2 separate regions of the Homo sapiens genome follow, and region 2 is linked to region 1. The links are contacts of gene promoters, found by promoter capture Hi-C in human tissues and cell types (Jung and others, 2019). All regions are on one chromosome and are shown on one strand. The core of a region is centred on a gene start or on the middle of the fragment in contact, and the rest is flanking DNA. Distances in the headings are between cores, read along the strand shown.

What was found. The method cuts DNA at HindIII sites, captures the fragments that hold promoters and counts their contacts. A contact is called where the count stands out against the background at its distance.
Region 2: a contact is called between the fragment with the promoter of PTTG1IP here and the fragment with the promoter of LSS in region 1, in 1 of the 25 tissues and cell types used here (mesenchymal stem cells).

Annotation. Positions count from the first base shown.
Region 1 is chr21:46,225,724-46,230,113 of GRCh38, forward strand. It overlaps LSS (lanosterol synthase), which reads right to left and starts at 3,051. Exons shown (of 22, transcript NM_002340.6): 1 at 3,009-3,051; 2 at 2,711-2,876; 3 at 1,829-1,967. The coding sequence starts at 3,022. It overlaps MCM3AP-AS1 (MCM3AP antisense RNA 1), which reads left to right and starts at 3,508. Exons shown (of 4, transcript NR_110565.1): 1 at 3,508-3,543. RefSeq lists enhancers at 2,306-2,375, 3,092-3,386 and silencers at 2,806-2,855, 2,916-3,085, 3,096-3,355, 3,416-3,855. The HindIII fragment of the contact is 14,795 bases long and covers 1-4,390 here.
Region 2 is chr21:44,871,746-44,875,944 of GRCh38, forward strand. PTTG1IP (PTTG1 interacting protein) reads right to left here and starts at 1,945. Exons shown (of 6, transcript NM_004339.4): 1 at 1,757-1,945. The coding sequence starts at 1,871. RefSeq lists enhancers at 1,066-1,566, 1,567-2,067, 2,225-2,902 and a silencer at 1,659-2,308. The HindIII fragment of the contact is 14,261 bases long and covers 1-4,199 here.

The DNA.
Region 1 (4,390 bases), core at 1,801-4,300:
CCACTCTCTGCCTCGGCTGCCAGGCAGGGAAGAGCCCACTGTCCAGTGGACACGTGACCCATGTGACCTTACCTATCATTGGAGATGGCTCACACTCCTTACCCTGCCCCTTTGTCTTGTATCCAATAAATATCAGCGCAGCCTGGCATTCAGGGCCACTACCGGTTTCCACGTCTTGGTGGTAGTGGTCCCCCGGGCCCAGCTGTCTTTTCTTTCATCTCTCTGTCTTGTGTCTTTATTTCTACAATCTCTCATCTCCGCACACAGGGAGAAAAACCTACCGACCCTGTGGGGCTGGACCCTACAGGAGGCTGAGGCAGGAGAATCACTTGGACCCAGGAGGCAGAGGCTGCAACGAGCCAAAATTGTGCCATTGCACTCCAGCCTGGGGAACAAGAGCGAACGCTGTCTCAAAAAAAAAAAAAAAATACAAAAAAACTCCAACTCACAGCCAGCCCACAGGAAGGGTCCCAGCCAGCTAAGCCCAGAGCCAAAGCAGCAAGAACAAACAACACAGTAATCCCCACTGACCAAGCACCACTGCATGCCTGACACTGTGCACATGACCAAACCTGATTCCAATCCTGTCACAGGTCAGGCTACAGAGGCAAAGTGGGGCTGACCCATCTCCTGACCAACTCTATGTCATTGCCTTACCACGAGCCCTGAGAACAGTCTAAACAGGCCCTGATGGGGCCAAGGGAAGAAGAGCACCTTGACTTCCCCTAAGGACAGGCCCTCAAATCCCAGGACAGAAAAACTCAATGCTGTACAGTCCAGGTGGCAGCAGGGCTAGAAGTCAAAGCAGAGATGGGGATCCCAGTGCTCCTCCTGCTAGTCTGGTTACCTGGAATAAATGTGCCTCAGCTTTCTAATGTATCTCATTAGGCTTATTCTAAGGACTAAAAGAAGAACAGGCCTTGAGCAGGGCTTGGCCTACAGTAAACACCATGGAACTGTTTTTAACGTTAAAGGCCAACTCTTCCCAAACTAACATATAAGCCTATTGCAACTTCATTTCAAGTCTGGGACAAAATCAGGATAAAGGCAATTTGGATGAGTAAATGAATAGACACAGGTAAGAGATGTTTTAAAAAGAAAGGCAACAAAGGTATATAAGGACTTTCTATCTATTACAAAGTCAGCGTAGTAAAAGAAAATGATGTATCAGTAAGAGTTATCACAGAAACAAAACCTATTTATGTAGGAATTCACGTCATTGAAACAATGTGATTACAAGTCACTAGGGAAAAAAGTCCTATTGCATAAATTCATAGGAGGGAATTTCCCATTTTACAAGGCTGAGGATTTCTGTAGAGAAACACTCCCAGGATGCAAAATAGTCTTGTGTAGCCAAATCAGTTCAATACCCAGGCAGTCCAACTGCTATGCTCCTCCTACTCACCAGCCTGAACCTGAAGCTCTCCTGCAATAGCCCCGAGGAAGTTCACAGCAGATATCAGCTCCCCACCCACCACTCTGCCCACCTACAGCCCCTTGGCATAGGCTGGGCCTTCCACCTGGAATGTCCATCCCATCCTGTACTGAGACTTCAAAGCCCACCTTCCTCCTCCCTCAAGGCAACACAGAGCCCTAGAGAACCACTTGCTTCTCTTATCAGAGAGCCTGTCACCCTACACTGGCAAGGCTAGCTGATCCCCTAGACCAATAGCAGGACGACTCTGACATAGGGCAGAGTTTGCCAGCCCTTTTCTTGTGAGCCCCTGGATTTTCACCTGCTTCATCAAAACCCTAGACCAGGCTGGGCCAGGATCCCAAGGGTGATCCAGGGTGGCCATACCATCAGGCTGGGGCAGCATACTCCTACCTGGCAGGAGGAAAAGTGGGCCACCATAATCACCCGTCCAGTGCCCATCCTCAGCCTGCAGCCCCACGTAAAATGTCATCCCGTTCAGAGCCCCCTCAAAGGCGGTGTGGGCTTTGGGCAAGTCCTTAAAGTAATTCTTCTGCAAAGAGATCGAAAAAAAAAAAAAGAGATAGCTGACGGGACTGTTGCCCGGCCAGAGGAACCCTCTTCACATACAGCCCAAGTCAAAACAGTGAATGTAAATTACTTTAAAAGTTTCAGCTGTTTCCATCAAAAGTCTGAAACTCTTTGATGAGAGCATCACACCTCAGCAAAGTAAAAGAACAGCTGCACATTTTCGTTGCTTTATTTGCCAGTCATGTATTCTTCACAACTTCTCCAAGATGTCTGGAATAAACCAGGCACCCAGACTGTAGGGTGGGGCACGGGTGCCGACCTGGGCCTGGGACTCGGGCCTCTCAAAGAGGGCCCAAGGGGCGGCACAGCCTTTCCCTCGGTGGCCGGGGCTCGGCAGGAGACCCTGTTTACACTGCAGACTCTGACGACCAAAATCTCTTACAATGCACACAACTAAGACAGTGGATCCAAACACTTTTTGTGAATAAAAACAAAGTTACAACTATCTTTGCAACTCTCCTATAAGTCAAAAATTATCTCAAAATAAGGTGCTAAAAAATAAAACATTAGGAGTCTCCTATGCGTGGTTTAGAGATGAAGGGGCTGAAGCGGAGGGGCCCGCGAACGCAGTTCCCGTGGGCGCTCGCCTTGGGGATGGGCGTCGCTGGCCGGGTCCTCCCACCCGCCTTTCTGAGAGAAAACGTGCTCCTCACGGCTCACCCCTCAGGGTCCCGAGCTCGCTGACGCTCCGCGGAAGCAACTTACGGTGTCCAGCCCCAGGGCGTAGGCTTCCAGGCCGGTCTGCTCGCGGCCGGCGCGCTCGTCCTGCAGGTAGGTCCACGTCTGCCGGCCCCTCTCGCAGTTGAGTCGCCAGCGGCCGAGGTCGGTGGCGGGCTCGGTCTTGTAGGGGCCCCCTCGGCGCCGCAGACACCTGAGGACCACCGGCCATCAGCGACCCAGGCCCCGCCCCAACGCCGGCCGCCGGCCCACTGCCCCAGTCGCGCTCTCCTCAGCACCTAGGACCACCCCGCATTCGTCAGGAGCCCGGGGCGAGGGGACTCACGTGCCCTCCGTCATTGCTGCTGCAGTGCTCTACGCCGCCCACTGCCAGCTGCCAGATGTCCGCACCCGGGACCTGCCGCCCAGCCCCGCCCCTCCCGCCCCTCCCGCCCCTCCCGCCCCTCCCGCGCGCACTACGCAGGCGCAGGCCTCGGCAGGCGCTCAGGCTTAGGTGGGCCGACGCCCACGCAACCAATCAGAGCGCCGCGAGCGTGACCCCGGGGTGTGCCAGGCGACCACAGTGGTGGAGCGCTTGGTGCCCCATGCGGCGTGGGGCGGGGCCTGAGGGAGCGGGGATGGTGGGTGAAGGCGACGGGACGGGGGAGGCGGGTGGGGCCTTATTGGCGGGGCATGAGGGGCGGGGCTGGTGGGTGGGGAGGTGGGGGCGGGGCTGGTGGGTGGGGAGGTGGGGGCGGGGCCTGGTGGGTGCGGGTGGGGGCGGGGCTGGTGGGTGGGGCCGAAGGGCGGGGGCGGGGCCTCTCGCGCGCCCTCTAGAGGCTTGCGTCCCGGGAGCCCGGCCTCGTGCGCCGCGCTTTGAGGTGAGCCTCTCTGAGAAATTTGTGAGGAGGGTCCAGCCGCGGGTCGGAAGGAAGGACGTGGGGAGCGAGGCTCGAGCGAGCGACAGCGAGTGCGAAGGTCGGGTGGCAGGGAATTGCTCTCGCGCTGCAGGATTTGCCCGGACGCCGGGGCCGGGGGTGGGGGCGGGAGGCCGCCCTGAGGTGAGGTGGGCGCGGGCCGTCGGCTCCAGTGCGAGACCAGGGGGAGGGCGGGGCGGAGCGGAGGAGCCGAGGGCGCCGCCGGCGTCCCTGGGAAGCTGAGCGCCGCGTAGCTTCGCCGGGGGGAGTGGGGTAGGCGCGGTGAGGCCGTGGGCCCCCACACCTGGCGGACCACAGGGGCCAGAAGCCCTGGAGCCCCGCCAGGGAAGGGCTGCGTCGCTGGCCAGGACCGAGCGCGGTAGAGCCTCAGCTGCTCACGGGGTCGCTGGAGTTGGGGGTGGCCCCAGGAGAAATTAAAGGTGAAAAGCCTTAGCAGCAGAGGGAAGAGGAAGATGGAGGCAGAGCGAGTGACCGAACTTGGAAGGGACAGCCGGGCGCAACAGGGCAGGGGGCGTCTGACTGTTGGAAACATGGCTGACGTCTGGAGGCTGCAGCCAGTGGTCCGTAAGTCAGGTCAAGGACCCACAGAAGACCCCAGCATGTCTTCACCTGGCCCACAGAAGCCCTGACATCCAGTTACAACTGCCCCAGCCTAGTGAGCATTTCGGCACCCACTCCTCAATTCCTACCCCCAGCCTAACTTCGAAGGGGCGGTGAGCCACAGCAAGCCGGAGGAGAAAGTTGGAAGAGAGAGTGGACAAAAGAATACCCACAGGCACCTTCCCCACAG
Region 2 (4,199 bases), core at 695-3,194, 1.4 Mb before region 1:
AAGGGGCACGCAGACACCAAAGGCGCCTGGGCAGTGAATGCCAACATGACACGGCACCATTCTTCCTATTCCAAGGGGTCCCCAGTGAGAGAAACAACAGTCCACCCACCAGGACTTGGTGATTACCATAAGTGGAAGCAAGCAAGTGCAGCCTCCAAGTGCAGACACACCGAATGGCTTTTCAGCTGACACACCGAATGGCAGTTCCGGATTAATTCCCACACTGTCCACTCCACTCGTCCACACCCATCTCTGCACCCTTCAGCAGTGCAGAGCAGGAGGAATCACAGTCAAACAAAACCTCATGGTTGTTTTCCTGACACTCCCGCTTTCACAATGCAAGCAAACACACCCCCGAGCCACTGATACAGTTGCCAGTGAATCACACACTCTGCCTGCAGACGCCCATTCTGTTTGTGGAAACGTATTCACTGCACATTTGCGCTTAGAACTCAATCTGGGCCAAAAGTTCCCAGTACAGTCCCACTGGCCTCCTTGACTAACAAACTTCAAGGCAGCTGCATTGCTAACGTCACAAACCCTAAGCACACTTGGAGGCAGGTAAGAAGAAACACAAATAATCCTGCATCGGAATAAACATTCCATAAGGTCACAAAAAGAAAAGGTGCTCTACTATGCTAAACAGACACTGACAGAGCCTGGGCTAACAAGAGCTGAGAAAAGTATTAGCCCCTCAAGCTGGGCCCAGGTCAACCCTAATTGTAAGGGTCAGGAAACTGAAGTTAAGGTGGCACTATTCCCCACCACTAGTGGTCACCTGGAAACTCCACACACGGAAGCCAGCATGACATTGTGAAACAGGTCCAACCATGACACTCTCCAGCTTAGAACCTGCTGGATTTTCCCGCAGCCCACCAGGCCCTGGAGGCCCAGCCCCACAGGAAGCCACCCTCTATAAACACTGCCGGTTTCTGGAACTCTGAGTCTCCTGTCATGCACTTTCCTCCCCCAGCCCCCGCGCCCTCACTGCTTCTTTCTTGGTCAGCCTCCCGGGGACTCAGCTCCTCTTGGATAGGAGCTCTGGCTGTCGGTCACCACTGTGGCCGCAGGGCCTGGTGCAGACGGGATAAACGATGAAGAATGCCACCTGCGCGTCTGGACAGCGTAGAACCGCAATCAGCTTGCTTCAAAATCAGATGCTACAGCCTGGCTTTGGGGACGCCTTCCTTTCTAAGGCATAAGTGCGAGCGTTCGCTGCTGTGCGTGGAACTGCGGCCGGGAGGGAGTGGCGGCGTGAACGCCGGCGGCTGTAGAGACACACCGGCCGCGGCCCCATCACCCTGCAGGGGCCTGCGGCCGCCATCCCGGCCTGCCCCCGACCAGCTGTGCGACCTCGAACACGTCGTGAGCCGGCTTCCCGGCTCGGGATCGAACCCGAGGAGTGCTGTTTGGGGTCGCAGTGAGGCTAAGGGAGGCCGCAGGTGCCAAGCGTCCCGCCTGCCGGGCGAGGGCCAACCCGAGGCCACGCGCGAGGAGCGGCCGCAGCGACTGGACAAAACAAAGACAAAGACAAAGACGGCTCTTCCCCTGCCCGCGCCCCAGCCGCGACGGCAGCTCCCGCGGCCGCCAAACGGGCGTGACCCTCGAGGAGCCTCCGTCGGGGCGCTGCCTGCGACCGTGGGCCCAGGCCGCCCGCCGAGCCCAGCGCCCTGGCCGAAACCCCGACCCCGACCCCGACCTGGACCCACCAGCCGCCCCGCCCCCTTCGCGGCCCCGCCCGCCCCGGCGCCCTCACCAGCTCCGGGAGGCTCCTGCGCGGCGGCCACCGGGATGAGCAGCAGGAGCAGCGCGGCGCCACCGAGGCGCAACCTCCAGTACGGCGTCGGCCCGCGGGCCACTCCGGGCGCCATGGTCGGCCGGTCGCTCTATCAGTCAGTGGAGCGTTACAACTCCGACTCCAGCACAAGCGGTCTCCGCCCGGAACAGCCGCGGCGCCGGAAGTGGACCTGCGAGGTGGGGCCATGCGAGTGCGCAGCCTCAAAAAGCAGCTCGCCCCGCTCCCTCGCCATCTGCCCCGCCCCTCGCCAACGGGCTCGCCTCCCGGCGCGGCTGAGGTTCAGTGCGCCTGCGCGATAGAGGAAAGGAGCCTGGTAGCGAGGAGAGCGGCTGAGGCTCAGTGCGCCTGCGCGGCGCGGATGGGCGAGGCGTGACCGAGGGGCGAGGCGTGACCGAGGGGCGAGGCGTGACCGAGGGGCGAGGCGTGACCGAGGGGCGAGGCGTGACCGAGGGGCGAGGCGTGACCGAGGGGCTCGCCGCGGCTCCTGCGCCTGCGCGGCGGGGAACGGCGACCGGCTGAGGGGACTAGGGGAGCGCGGTGCTTCGGTGGCGGAGGTCACGGTGGCCTCCATCCTAAAGGGCTGCGGGCGTCCCGGACGGCGGTCCCAAGCGCTGCTCACGCTGCTCTTAAGTGAGCCCTGGACGAGGCGCGGTGGGCCCTCATAGTCCGCGCCGGCGCCCTCGCTCCACACCGCGGCGTCCGGCCCTGGGCTCCCGCCGATGTCCGCGTGGGACTTTTAGGGGATTTGTTTATTTTTGTACGTTAACCACACTAGAAACGGCCCCAGAATGGGCTGAAACGTGTGCTGCTGAAGCTGCCACCTAAACTCCCGAGAGAAGCGCCGTTTCTCCTCCATGGCTTCTCGCCGACGCCCTCGCTGCGGCCTTCCGGGCCCCTCGGTTGATAAAAGGACTAAATAGTGACGGACATTTTTAAGGCTACTTAAGAAATGGCAAAAATACATTTAGAGGTGTGAACCCGAACACACTGCGCGCTTTAAGCCCCGCGAGAGCCGGGGCCGCCCGCTTCTGTGCGCCCGTAGCTCCTTTCTCGGGTCCGGGATTCGCCGGTGCCGGGGACAGAAACCTCCTGCCTTCTTAGTTCATGACCCTTGTAGATGAACTTCCCTGTTTTCTGCACTGCTTAGACCAGAAGACGGGAAACCGTGACTGCCGCACCCTTCCCTGAAGCAGGCACTGCCCGTCGTCCATCAAACGCGAGGACTGCGCCCACCTCGTAGGAAGGACGCCGCGGTCCTGCTAAAAGCCTCCGCCTCTGCCTGCCCGAGGGCACCCTTCCCCTCCCCGCTTCCGAGGGCGGACTCCATTCCTCTGGAGCCGGTGTTTCCGGGTGGGCCAGCCTCCAACTGCCTTTGAATAACCCCCCCTTACATTAGATTCTGACCCTGTGGTGATTTTAGGTTGGGATTTGGGCGCCTGCAGATGGCTCCGAAGCCAGCCTCTTGTGATCCGAGCCACTTCTCTGGCACTCGGAGCGCTGGCACCCGCGGAGCGGCCTTGGTTCACCGGACCGCCTGGGAACCTGGCCGGGGTCTCTGGCAGCCTCCCAGGGCTGAGGTTCAGACTCTGTTCCGCCTACCCAGGTCCACACCTGATAGGGCTGGAGTTGAGGCTTGGTTTTAAGGCAAGAGTTTCGTTTGTTATTTCTCCAAAGAGTCAGCTGTTTGCAGGTGTGTGGTTAACACTATCCTTCGAGGTTAAGGTTTTGTTCGTCTTGCTAAAGTTTGCAACCTTTTTTGTCCTTCAGATTTGGAGAAGGGGAAAGCAGTTTCTCTTTGAAAAGAAGCAGCGAATCGTGGCTTAAGCAAAATTTGTAATCCTTAAAACTGGCCAGGCTCTGGAGCTGAGTTCAATTTGACATGTCTAAACTTTCTTCTTGAGTAACCAGATTTTCCCTTACAGTCTTTTGTCACTTAAGAGAACTCATAGGCAATCGTCCATCCAAAACAAGTCTTTCTCCTTCAGGGAGGACCCATCTTTGGAAACTCCAGCTGGTTTCCTGTGCAGTGCTTATGGTGCCACCTCTCGTTATATTTAGAAAAATGGTCTCACGTAACTTGAGAAAAAACATTTCAGTGACCAAAGCCGGGTACCATTGGAACACCAAGGTAATTTACTTGTTTGCTCAATTGGAAAACGCTGGCTCTAGGATAAAACGGAATCTTTGGGAGAGTTATTTTTTATGGTAGTTGGAAGCATCCAAAAGAAGTTCTAATAAAGGTATTTATGAGAGAAAAACAAAAATTATCTAAAATAATTTCTGAATTTAAAAAAGACTACTGAAATTTCTCCCCCTCCTCCCTCAGCTCCTTCTCTTTATCCTTTGTTGTCTGAATTACCTCGCCCAGACCCACCTTTCTTCCTCCTCCTCCTCCTGTTTT